4 separate regions of the Homo sapiens genome follow, and regions 1, 2 and 4 are each linked to region 3. Evidence: promoter capture Hi-C in 16 types of primary human blood cells and fetal thymus (Javierre and others, 2016). All regions are on one chromosome and are shown on one strand. The core of a region is centred on a gene start or on the middle of the fragment in contact, and the rest is flanking DNA. Distances in the headings are between cores, read along the strand shown.

What was found. The method cuts DNA at HindIII sites, captures the fragments that hold promoters and counts their contacts. A CHiCAGO score of 5 or more calls a contact.
Region 1: a contact is called between a fragment that was not itself captured here and the fragment with the promoter of GLYCTK in region 3, in 7 of 17 cell types (erythroblasts, M1 macrophages, endothelial precursors and 4 more). The highest score is 11.0, in erythroblasts.
Region 2: a contact is called between a fragment that was not itself captured here and the fragment with the promoter of GLYCTK in region 3, in 6 of 17 cell types (M1 macrophages, erythroblasts, endothelial precursors and 3 more). The highest score is 8.9, in M1 macrophages.
Region 4: a fragment that was not itself captured here is called in contact with the fragment with the promoter of GLYCTK in region 3 in 1 of 17 cell types (M2 macrophages); the score reaches 6.4 in M2 macrophages.

Annotation. Positions count from the first base shown.
Region 1 is chr3:52,379,188-52,382,505 of GRCh38, reverse strand. DNAH1 (dynein axonemal heavy chain 1) reads right to left here. Exons shown (of 78, transcript NM_015512.5): 48 at 2,371-2,601; 49 at 670-866; 50 at 51-186. Among named protein-coding and RNA genes, the nearest start is that of BAP1, 29 kb to the left of the region's middle. The HindIII fragment of the contact is 6,412 bases long and covers 1-3,318 here.
Region 2 is chr3:52,361,665-52,364,827 of GRCh38, reverse strand. DNAH1 (dynein axonemal heavy chain 1) reads right to left here. Exons shown (of 78, transcript NM_015512.5): 30 at 3,062-3,163; 31 at 2,327-2,440; 32 at 1,684-1,833; 33 at 104-190. Among named protein-coding and RNA genes, the nearest start is that of BAP1, 47 kb to the left of the region's middle. RefSeq lists an enhancer at 1,984-2,537. The HindIII fragment of the contact is 7,102 bases long and covers 1-3,163 here.
Region 3 is chr3:52,286,552-52,289,531 of GRCh38, reverse strand. It overlaps GLYCTK (glycerate kinase), which reads right to left and starts at 1,704. Exons shown (of 5, transcript NM_145262.4): 1 at 1,656-1,704. It overlaps GLYCTK-AS1 (GLYCTK antisense RNA 1), which reads left to right. Exons shown (of 1, transcript NR_046719.1): 1 at 1-952. LOC107986086 (a long non-coding RNA gene) reads left to right here and starts at 1,512. Exons shown (of 3, transcript XR_001740699.2): 1 at 1,512-1,699. RefSeq lists enhancers at 1,937-2,046, 873-2,072, 1,378-2,119. The HindIII fragment of the contact is 11,873 bases long and covers 1-2,980 here.
Region 4 is chr3:52,169,382-52,172,292 of GRCh38, reverse strand. No RefSeq gene overlaps it. Among named protein-coding and RNA genes, the nearest start is that of POC1A, 16 kb to the right of the region's middle. The HindIII fragment of the contact is 2,257 bases long and covers 472-2,728 here.

The sequences.
Region 1 (3,318 bases), core at 322-2,821, 93 kb before region 3:
GGGTTGTGTCCAGCCCCCCCGAGCCCTGCCCTCTGCTGTGGCAGTGGCACCTGGGTGTCTGAGAAGAGGAAGGTGATGGGTAGGTTCTGTAGGCCCGCCTTGAGCAGGACCTTCTTCACATCATCTCGCCACTCGGACATGCCGTAGTTCTTGGATAGTTCAATCTGGAAGCACTCGTACTCGGCCCTGGAGGCAGAAGTTTGGGTTGAAGCATGCCAGGGACTTGGGGCCAGACGCTGAAGGGTGGTGGGTGACCACACCCTACCCTGACCACCTGGAATTCTGCTCCCATCCTGGGCAGACCTGCAGACCCTTCAGGCCCTGAACCTGCTTTTTTGCCTTCAGACCTTTGCCCAAGTTGTTCCCTCAGTCCAAATGCCCTTCCCTTCCATCCTCCCAGCTCTGATTCTGAGAGCAGCCCTGGCCACCTCCCCTAGTAATCCCTCTGGGATGCCTGCACCACACTTCCCTCCCTACAGCACCACAGGCACTGCTGCTGCCTCTCCCTGGAGCCCAGATCCTGCTACTAGTCTTTCCAGAAGCCTGTAGGCTGCACGGGCCTACTTCAGGGTTGCCCGAGGCCTCTACCACTGTGCAAAAGCATGGGTCAGTCAAACCGACCAGCCAGCCCTGGCCGCCCACTGCCCAGCACGCCCTGGAGGCGCTCACATGTGCGAGGCGAGCCTTGTGAGGGAGCTGCGGCCGCTGCCACCCACGCCCAGCAGGAGTGCATTGCCCAGCGCCTGGCGTAGGGTGCGGCTGATGCGACAGATGTGGCTCATGGCGTCCATGAAGAGGACCAGCTTCAGCTTGGCCGTGTTGATCTGGTTGTAGTCCTCTATGTACTCCTCTATCACCTGCATCATCTGTGCACCAAGGCGAGGATGGGGAAGGCGGGGTCTCTCTTACTGTAGGGTCTCCCCGATTCCCCCCACCCACCCGCTTTCTTCTCTGTCCTGACTGAGAAGCACAGGTGCCTTGACCACCTGTGACCCGGCCAGCTGCATGTTTCCCCTGCAGGCTCGAGCCCAAGCTGAACATTCCCAGACACTGATAAACTTGCTTAGATTGTTGCTCAAAACACTGAGGGATTGGCCTAGCGCGGTGGCTCACGCCTGTAATCCCAGCACTGTGGGAAGCCAAGGCGGGAGGATCACTTGAGCCCAGGAGTTCAACACCAGCCTGGGCAACATGGCGAAACTCTGCCTCTACCAAAAAATAAAAAATAAAAATAAAAATTAGCTGGGCGTGGTGGTGCGTGCCTGTGGTCCCAGCTACTCAGGACGCTGAGGTGGGACGACTGATAGAGCCCATGAGGTAGAGGCTGCAGTAAGCCAAGTTCATGCCACTGCCCTCCAGCCTAGGTGATGGAGCAAGACCCAGTCACATACACACACACACAAACAAAAACAAAAGCAAAAATAAAACCCACGGGGGGATCAAGCATATTGTTAAACACATAGAAGCTAGCCCCAGCCCACCCAAATCCTTCAGTCCTCATGTGAACTCCATAACTCATATGACTCCCTTGTTGCACACATACTGAGCTAGAACATCTCTGCTCTCCCCTGTATGTGAGTTCCCCTAATAAATGCTCTGGACTAATTACCCTGTAATTCAATGCTTCTTTCTTTGGAATCTCAACCAGCCCAATCTAGGGATGGCTTGGGGGCAGTCCCTTGTAGGAACTTGCTTGCTGTCACTTTTGGGGCGACTCCAATCATGGGCTCGGCTGATCAGAGCACCGTGTACTGGGGCCCTCCCTGACGGGGAGCTCACCTGCCACAGCATACCCTGTTCCTCCTGTGCATGGTGGGGACGCTGGGCCTTAAGAAGCCAGGCCCCCCTGCACGAGGCCTGACCCAGGGACACATGGAGGCCTGAGAGTTGGGTCAGAGCCCTGCCTGCTCCTTCTGGGGCTTACCAGGGTGTGCTGACCCTGTGACCCTGGTGGGAGCTCTTGGAATTAGGAGAGGATGCGTGTGGAGAGAAACTGTCAGGAGGCCTGCTTCAGCCATGCAGCACTGGGGCCACCAAGTGAGGCCTCTTCCCTGCCTCCCTGGGGTCCTGACTGAGACCCATGGCCCCAGGCCCCGCCCCCGGCCCCTTGTGGAGGGATGATTGCCCCTGTGTCTAGAGCCCATCTCAGCTGGACCACAGGCTGGTTTTCAGAGATAAGTGAAGAAACCGGTACCCAGAGAGAGCAAGGGCATGCCGGGAGTCTCCTGGAGCTGGCTGTCTTACCCCGCGTCCTGGCCCCCTGGTTATAGTGTGGTAGTCTGTTAGTGGTGACTGCAGGGGGCCTGGGCCCCAGGGAGGCAGATTGAAGAGGACCCCACCAGGGGCAGGGCGCCTGCCTGGGCCCCTCACCTTACTCTCACTGGTGATGAGCTCGTAGGACTTGACATCGGAGCCTGGTGACATGAAGTCCCCGTAAAGAATGGGCTGGAAGGGGCAGACCTTGTTGAAGGTCACCTCCCACTGCTCCATGCAGCGCTTGAGGAGCTGGTCGAACCAGCTGCGGTCCTCCTCATTCACCAGTCGGTCCCGGAACACGCGGCAGTTCTCGTGATACCACAGTCGCAGCAGCTGCACTTGGTCCTGCAGTAGCCCCAGCATCGGTGCCTGTCCTTGGCCCCCAAGCCCTCAGCTATCTCTCAAACCACCAGGCAAGGGAGGGTGGGCCCCAGTTCCTGGGGCCCTGACTGGAGCCTGGCTCTCCCACCATGGCCCAGGGACAGTGTGTGGGGGCTGCTGGCAAGTGCAACTGCTGGCTGGCTGAGGATGGGGTGGATTGCACAGTGCTGCCTGGGCCTCCTCATGCCTCAGCTCCGAGTCCAGCTGGCCAAGTGCCCTCTGGGTGTCTGGCTCTGCTAGCTTGTCACAAGCACCTCACTTCCACCTTTTAGCCCCCTGTCGCTCCCCTAACCCCAAACCTGGGAGGGATGCTTGATGCTCCTAACACTTTCCCAACACCCCACATCTAACCACCCACCAAGCCACACTGACATGACCCACCAATCTCCTCTGAACCTGCCCCCTCTCTCCATCTCAGCTGCCGCCTCTGTCCCAGCTTCCCTGCATCTCCCTGGGTGGCAGGACTGCCCTCCGGAAGCTCCCAGCCTTTTCTGTAGACTTTGTTGGCTACAAGCGTGGCTACAAGGCCAGGGTCAGCTTCTGTCCTGCTCACCCCATCTCCTTAGCCTGGGCTACACACACACTGGCCGCTCAGTCCCATTCCAAAGTGCAGGTCTGTCCCCCGCCCACCCACACGGCTCATTACACCCTCAGAACAAATTTAAGCTCCATGTTGGCCCC
Region 2 (3,163 bases), core at 568-3,067, 75 kb before region 3:
GCAGGTGCCGGCTGAGCCTTCAGGGCAGTGGGCCAGCTGCCCTCCAGCTGCCCAGGAGCCCTCCCAGAGTTCCACTCCTGGAGCCCTGCTGGGTGGAGCTCACCTCATTCATGCTGGGGTTTTCTCGCTTGAGGTTCCCAGCAGCCGAGATCACAGTTTTCACGGCTCTCATCCCGAAGTCATAGTGATCCTGTCGCCATACAGAAGGAGGCATGGGTGAGCACTGTCCCTCTCCAAGGCTTCTGCCTGGAACACTCTGCCTCCCACCTGGCAGTTGGCCAAGTCTCATCACCAGCTCATAGCACTTCCCTTGCAGACCTGCTGGGACCACCTACATGCCCAGCCTGGGCAGGTGCACCTTCTTTGGGCTCCCCGGGCACCCTGCACTTTACTGTCCCGATAGCCCCCTCCTTTATCCGATACCCATTCTGCATCCTTTGGTCACTGTCCCAGCACATGGCCAGGGGCAGGAGGGCCCTCTAGTTGTGCTGGAAAAGTGAATGAAGGAGTTTCCCATCTGTGCAACAATCAGCTTGGCCTTGATGGCCCTTGAGCTTCCTTCTAACATTCTCCCATAACATCTCTCCAGACCCGTCTTTCTGGCCACACCACCATGCTTTTTCCCCCAGCCTGTTTCTCTTCATTACACAGTAAGTGAGTTGGAAATAGTTAAATTAATCATTCTGCCCCATGGTGCCCAACCAAGAGGACTCCATCTAGACCCAACCCATAGACTAGCATATGTTCCAGAAATCTCGGACTTGGAGCTGCATGAAGAGGCTGGGCTTGACTTTGGGTCATTTCTATTTGGGAAGAGTTGAGTGCATTTCCAAAACCATGTGGGATAGTTGCTCTGATTGGGGGTGGGGAGCATTTTGGAAAGAAGGGTGTGTGGGAGCGCCGGCACCCAGGAGTGCACTGTGATGAACTGCCACTGCTTTTCCTGGTAACAGGCTGCATCTCTTCTAGCTCATAGATTTTGGTGGACTGCATCTGGCCAAAGGTAGTACTGATTACCCCTGGCCACAGTGATTGGTGTTCATGGATGAGCAGGTGACCCAGAGAAGGCCCATTAGGGTGACAACAGGGATTTTTTTCTGAAATCATGATGGAAGACAAACTAAGTTGCTAGCATGTCAGCCCAGAGGTGGGACTCGTCTCTGCTGCTGCAAAGTGGGGGCCTGTTTGGGAACCAAGCTGAACAGGAAAGCTCATCCACCAGCACTGGTGCCTGGGCCACCCCATCTGTCCTTGGAATCTGGGCTCAGCAAGCTGAGTGGAAGGATGGTGGTGCTGGGAGGCTCGGAGGGCCTGGCTGTCCTACTCTGGTCCCCACAAGGCCCAGGTGCACTTGCTCCCCAGCCTGGGGTTCTGAAGCTCTTGGTGCCCTAATGATCAAGGCCCTTGCACCTGAAGTAGCCACACAGGCATCTGTTCCTGGCTCCTGCTCCAGCGCTGCTGTGTACTGCATGAGCCTGGCCAGACCTTTAGCTACCTAGGACCTCGGTGTCCTCAGCTGACAAATGGGCATGTAACTCCTATCTCCAAGGGTTGCTGGGAGAAGCCGACAAGGTAATGCCTGTAAAGCACCGGGCATAGAGCCTGGCCCTCAGCAGGTGCCCTGGAGGCTGGGAGCAGGCAGAAGTTTTCAGACCCTGGAAACCCATCAGGGCAGGACCACACCTGGGAGCTGAGCTGCTCAGAAGACAGCTTGAAGGTGGTTGTGATCTTCTTAGCCAGCACACTGGCCTCATTAAAGCCAAAGGAATAGAGGGAGATCTCAGTGATCATGGCGTAATCTGGAACCATCATGGCCACGGGTCGGAAGAGCGCCTGGGACACACAGTGCACATGTGAACAGCAAACAGAGCTCACCCCCAGAGCACCCCCAGCTTCATCCGGCCCTCCTCCCTAACACGCTGGGACTCCCTGCTGCACCAAGCCTGCCACAGCTGAGGCTTTCACTCCCCTGAGACTGGTAGCTCTGCCATTAGAGTGGATCCTTGGTGTTGATCCAAACCTGCCCCCACATGACTCCCAGGAGATGCCCCTCTTGGCTCCTGTTTTCCTGTTTCTCCTGAAGGCCCAGGGTGAACAGGTCTCATTAGATTCCCCCTCCACACCACATCCATAGGCAGCCTGACTTCTCCCATGCCCTGAGGACAAGTCTGAGGCCCTGAGGCCTCCCCTCCATGGCTAAGGGGCTACCATAGGGAATCACAGTCCCTGGAGTCCAAGCAACTGTGTCCTTGCATAAGTGGCTTAGCATCTCTGAACTCAGGCTAGAGCTCTGGTGCTTCCTGGGCCACTCTGGGCCTGCACTTGCCTTCAGATTGTCAGGCAGCTCCGTGCGGCCAGCGTAGCCCGGGTTCATGGTGATAAACACTGCGCAGGATGGCACCAGTGGGATCTCCACACCCTCAAACATGAAGCGTTCCACCTGCAGTGGGGAGAGGCTGACTTGCCTGGGACTAGGGTGCCCAGCCTTGTCCCCTCCTCTGAGTGGGCCCCTTGTCCCCTGTTGATGCCCCTGTCCTGGCTGTAGCTGGTAGGCCAGGCCTGGACCCCTGATCATGGGTTGTATCCTCTCTCAGGATCTGGCCTGAAACCTCAGGCCCCAGTGGCTACCCATGGCCTTCCAGCTCCTGGCTTCAGGCCCTTGGAGGTCTCCACATCTCCTGCTTCCCACTCGCTCCACCCCCAATTCCCCAGCTCCAGCCAAGCTCAGCCTGACTAGGGGAAGTGGGGGAGGGGATAACTGCTAGCCTCTCAGCTCCTGTCCCCAGAACAAGGTCCCTGGCCGCCCTGCACGTGGCTAGAGAAAGGACCAATGCCTGGGGCTTTCCATAAAGGTCAGGATGTAATGAGGAGGGGACCCCTTCATCCCCCGCAGCTTGGCCTGGGAGCTGCCCACAGACTGGGGTTAGGGTGTGCCCCCGGGACAAGAGAGGCTGGACCCAGGGTGGACCTTAGCGCCTGGCTTCTCAGCCTGCAATGGGGAGCAGTATGGCGGCGTGAGTATGGCAGATCTGAGGGAGTAAGGTGGGTCCCCCGGGCTCACCCGCTGCTGCTGCGCCTTCTGGATGGTGGTGATCTGCTGCGCCACCACAGACAGCACCTCGATGTCGATGCGATTGAACTCGTCGAAGCAGGCCCAGGCCCC
Region 3 (2,980 bases), core at 455-2,954:
GCCCTTCTACCCACACAGTTGGCCAGACCCAACCCTGCCAAGAACACGCCTTCTGGTTCCAAGATAACAAAAACAAGTCCTAGGTCACACCACCCACAGTGGTGAGAGCCCAAGGGCTGAAGTAGGCAAAGGCCAGGCTCCCATAACTGAGCCCATAGCCATTTTCCCCACTGGGCAGAGTAAAAGCTAAAGAAGCCTTGGGGCGAAGGTCAGGAAGCTGTAGAGGGGTATAGGAACAACAAAGACCCAAACAGCTCATCTGTACTACATATGTACTATTGCATCTACTTTAATAAATGCCTACCATAAATGTTGCAAGCTGACTTCATCAGCAAGTATGGACTGAGCAGGGTAAGGAGGCTGGGAATTGAGGTTCCAGCTCTACTATAGGCTTTCTGAGTGGCTGGGACACCTCCATTTCTCTCACTGGGCCTCATCCGCAAAATGAGACATGGGGTGAGATTAACACTACGCTCTTCCCTTAACAACCTCAGGCTCTCTGATACTGTCCACTGCAACACAGATCTCAAACACCGGTTTACCCCACACCCAAATATGGTGGTTACTTCTAGACTTTGACCATTTTGCTTGCCTAGTTCTCAGCTCTCCGGTAAGAAAAGACAGCCATGCCTGACTTCTGTTGTGAAAGGGAACACAGAGGGCATCGTCATGGGGATTCCGAAAATGGGTCCAGTTTTGGCCAGGGGGACCCCTGGAGCTTGCCCATTGGACTTGGAGCTAAAAGCATCTTAGCAACTAAGACAGCCGGTCTTTATAGCCTGGATGAAATTTGTATCTATTTCCCAGATGGACAAGAGCCTAGAAGATCCCAGCCTTGCCACTGGGTATGAGCACAGGACAGGGGGACGCTCAATGCTAAGGCTGCCAGAGAAAATACAGGACTTCCGGTTAAATTTGAATTTCAAATAAACAAGTAATTTTTAAAGTATAAGTATGTGCATACAATGTTTAGGACTTAACAATTATTCGTCGTTTATCTTAACTCAAATTTAACTGGACGTGGCCCGGCGCAGTGGCTCACGCCTGTAATCCCAGCACTTTGGAAGGCTGAGGCGGGCGCATCACCTGAGGTCAGGAGTTCGAGACCAGCCTGACCAACGTGGTGAAACCCCGTCTCTTCTAAAAATACAAAAATTAGCCGGGTGTGGTGGGCGCCCGTAATCCCAGCTACTCGGGAGACTGAGGCATGAGAATCATTTGAACAGGGGAGGCGGAGGTTGCAGTGAGCCGAGATCGCGCCACTGCACTCCAGCCTGGGTGACAGAGTGAGATTCTAACTCAAAAAAAATGTAACTGGACGCTTTGCATTTTTATTTGCTAAGTCCTCCAATTCTATCCAAGACACGGTCTCTCCGAAACTCCGGGAGGCTCCAGAGCAAAACAACGGAAATAGGAAGACTACCGGTCTTGACTCCTCCCCGCCATCAAAGAAGGCTGGTACCATTTCCGGCTTTCCCTAGACAGTAGGGGGCCGGAAGTGACGTCATCCTAAGGTAGGGCCTTAGCGAGGGAAATGGCTGCCGCGTAATGCCCGGTGATGCGAGAAAGAAGGGCCTGCTGCCACCAGGACCCGTCATCGCCCAGCCCAGGGACCGCTTCTGAAGGCCATGCGAGCCCTGGCGGCGCAGACTTACCAGCCCACAGCTCCGGCCGCGGTGCCCAGCGCTGGAGAACGGAAGTACTAGGGGGTGGGCGGAGCGGAAGCCGGAAGTGTGGGTGGGTGGAGCGGCGCAGGCGGGTGCGAGCTCTGGCTGAAGCCGGTGTCCGGGAGGGGAGAGTTTAGCATATTGGCTCTTTGCTGGCCACTGACAGACCTGGAAGGAGTCACCTTCAGTCCTCATTTTTTAAATCTCTACATTGAGGGTAATAATCCCCGCCTCACCGATTGCCGATTTTTTTTTTGAGACGGGGTCTCATTCTGTCGCCCAGACTGGAGTGCAGAGTCGCGGTTTCGGCCCAATGCAACCTCCGCCTCCCGGATTCAAGCGATTCTCATGCCTCAGCCTCCCGAGTAGCTGGGATTACAGGCATGTGCCACCACTCCGGGCTAATTTTTGTATTTTTTAGTAGAGACGGGCTTTCGCCATGTTGCCCAGGCTGGTCTCGAACGCCTAACCTCAAGCGATCCACCCACCTCAGCCTCCGAAAGTGATGGGATTACAGACTTCAGCCGCCGCACCCGGCCTCTCCCTTCCTTTATCCTGTACGGTCAGTCAGCAGATGCACCCTGAGTGTCAGGCACTGACTGGGCTGAGCAAACGAACTGAGAATCACTACTTCCCCACAACTCACCCCTTCTGGAGCCAGATTAAGTAATTCCCGCTCCTCTCCATGGCTTTTATTCCACAACTTATTATTGTTCTTCCCTCTCCCACCATGGGCCACCAAATACAGCTCTGGCTTAGCAAGAGTTCCATTCTGCGATCCTCAAGCACATAAGCGGCATGTAAACGCTAATGACTCTGGGCCTACCTCGCTGTCCCTACTCTCATCCGGGGCCTACCCTGTGTTGGCTGGATGCCTTCCCACATTCATAAGATGAGTCCTGATCAGACTCCAAAAATACAAAACAGTTCACTGTTTTTACTGATGTTTTCTTAGGGAGATAGAGGAGAGAGTTGCATCACAAATCACACACTTGATTTCCTAACAATTTTATTGAAACATGTTTCTTGGCAGGGCGCAGTGTTTCACGCCTGTAATCCCAACATTGGGGAGGCCAAGGTGGGCGGATCGCTTGAGCCTAGGAATGCGAGACCAGCCTGGGAACATGGCGAAACTTATCTCTACCAAAAAAAAAAGAGCCAGGTGTGGTGGCATGCTCCTGTAGTCCCAGCTACTCAGGAGGCTGAGATGGGAGGATCACCTGAGCCTGGGAGGTAGAGGCTGCAGTGAACCTTGATCACGCCACTGCACTCCAACCTGGGCCCCTGTCTCAAAAAAAAACCAACAAACAAAA
Region 4 (2,911 bases), core at 351-2,850, 120 kb after region 3:
GGCTATAATCCCATTAGACCTCTCCTCACTCTGGGGTGTGGCCTGCCTTTAGAGAAAGCTGACCCACAGGGGCACACTAGTTCCACAGTGGGTACCACTGAGGCCCAGAATTGCCATGGGACTCCATGGAAAGGGGCACTCTGCAGGGGTCACTCCCACAACAGGTGGGGTCACTCCCACAACAGGTGGGCCTAGTGCAATAGCCCCATCTGTGGGGGGTCTCTTTTGGCTCATCTCAGTCCTAGGAGGGGACATGTGCCTCCTGACCCTTTGAGGCGGATCCCCAGGGACCTTGCCTACATGTGCCCTTCCAGTCTGGCCCTACTCCTGGTCCTCATCTGCTTTGTCCCACTCCCCAGACACCACATGTTCAGTCCTGTTACCAGACCTTTTCCTAGTCTGTGCCCTGCACCCGAACCACCCTTTCTCTTCTCTCCTGTCCATCTGCACCCCTCACTGTGCTCCAAAGCTTATCTCCTATAGAGCAGCTTTCCTTCATTACCTTAATCCCTTCGCCTTCTCTCCAGCCAAGAACCAGTCCTGTGCATCACAGATTCCATTGCAATCTATGAGCAATGTTGGAATGAGTCATTTATTTATTCACCAAATGTTTATTGCACCCCACTCTATCTGGGCCCTCTGCTGGGTGCAGGGGCACAGTCACATCTGTCTCTGGAGTGGACATTCTCATGGGGAGAAGATAACAGGTCCAGTGCATCAGATGGTGTTAAGTCACCACAGGAAAATAAAGCAGGGAAAGGGAAGGAGTGGGCAGACATTTGTAAGTAGGGTTGTCAGAGAAGGCTATACTGAGAAGCTGATGTTTGAACAAAGTCCTGATGGAAGTGACAGATAGAGCCATGGGGACACTGGGACAACAGCCGGTGCAAGAGTCCTGAGATGAGAGAGTGGCTGGCACATTCTTATTCAAGGAACAGCAAGAAGCTCAATGTGGTTGGAGCAGGGAGAGCAGGGCAGAGCAGTGGAAGCAGAGGCAGAGAGGTGTGGGCCAGATCATCGGAGCAGGGGAAGTATGAAGTCACATAGTTCATATTAAGTGTCAGCTCAACATCAAGCTCTGACACTAATGAAGAGCTCATGGAATCTCCCCTCCTCTATCATGGCAGGCATATTATTACGATTATTTTACAACTGAGAACACTGCAGCGGGGAGAGGTGGTATGACTCCTGCTAGATCACCAGTTCAAAGGTGGCAGGGCCTGGGCTCATCCGCAGGCCTGCCTGACCTTGGGACAAGCCCTGAGCTGCCCTGCTCAGAGTTTCAAACCCAGGCCACCAGCAGGCGTAGGCAGGGGAAACTGATAGCATTGATGGGGCTTTCTGGTTTCGGGCTGGCTGGGCTAAGTTGGTGGATGGGATATCCGACTTTCCCACTTCTTTCTCTGCCCCACCCTGGGTGGCCTTGGCTCATGGTCAGCAGGCTGGGGAGTGAAGACAGCCTCTTGTAGGGGAGTCCACCTGTGGGCCTGCACCAGGATAGACACCTTCCTGCCACAAGGGGACTTGAAAAAGATAGCTATGGCCAGGCGTGGTGGCTTATGCCTGCAATACCAGCACTTTGGGAGGCTGAAGCAGATGGATTACCTGAGGTTAGGAGTTCAAGACCAGCCTGACCAACATGGTGAAACCTCATCTCTACTAAAAATACATAATTAGCCGGGTGTGGTGGTGGGTGCCTATAATCCCAGCTACTTGGGAGGCTGATGCAGGAGAATCGCTTGAACCTGGGAGGCAGAGGGTGCAGTGAGCTGAGATCATACCAATGCACTCCAGCCTGGGCAACAAGAGTAAAACTCTGTCTCAAATAATAATAATAATAATAATAATAATAATAATAATAATAATAATAATGATAAAATAAATTTAAAAATAAAAATAAAAAAAGAAAAAGATAGCTAAAATAGCTCTCTTCCAGCTTCCTCAATAAGAAGGTCCCCCCAACATTGAGGCTCCTTCAAAACTGAGCTCTGCCTCTACATGGAGGCCTCAGTCAGAACTGGAGTCCAATCGAATGGAGGTAGTACTGGGGTAGGGGCCTGCCCAGTCAGGGAATAGAGGCACTTGGTTTATGCAGGTTGTACTAGCAGCAGATCCTGGGCTGTTTACATGTTGTCAGAGAATTTGCATTTTTTGGCGAAGAAATGAGCAAAAGGGGGTGGGGCACCTTCAGCTCCTCCTCCCAGGTGAATAGGGATGGAAGACAGAAGGATCTGGAAAGATTAGACGGGTAAGTAAAATCTTCTAGTGACTCTCACTTTGAATAAATCTAACGTTTGAAAACCATTTACAGAAGAGTTTCTCTAAATTCAATTTTTTTTTTTTTTTTTCAGAGACACAGTCTTGCTCTGTTGCCCAGGTTGGAATGCAGTGGCACAATCTTGACTCACTGTGATACCCGCCTCCTGCATTCAGGTGATTCTCGTGCCTCGGCCTTCTGAATAGCTGGGACTACAGGTGCGTGCCACCACGTCCAGCTAATTTTTGTATTTTTAGTAGAGACAGGGTTTCATCATGCTGGCCAGGCCAGTATTGAACTCCTGACCTCATGTGATCCGCCTGTCTTGGCCTCCCAAAGTGCTGGGATTACAGGTGTCAGCCACCGCGCCTGGCCAGATTTAAACATATTCTGATTGGTGATGTGTTGAAAGAGTTATTATCAGTAGAAAGGAATATCTTGGTTAAGATAAGGGGTTGTGGAGATCAAGCTTTTACCATGCAGATGAAGCCTCTGGATAGCAGGTTTCAGAGAAAATAGATTGTAAATGTTTCCTATCAGACTTAAGGTCTGTGTTGATGTTAACGCTGGAGGGATATAGTGAGGCATGTGCAACCCCAACTTCCCATCATGGCCTGAACCAGTCTTTCAGGTTAAATTTTAGAGTGCCCTGGC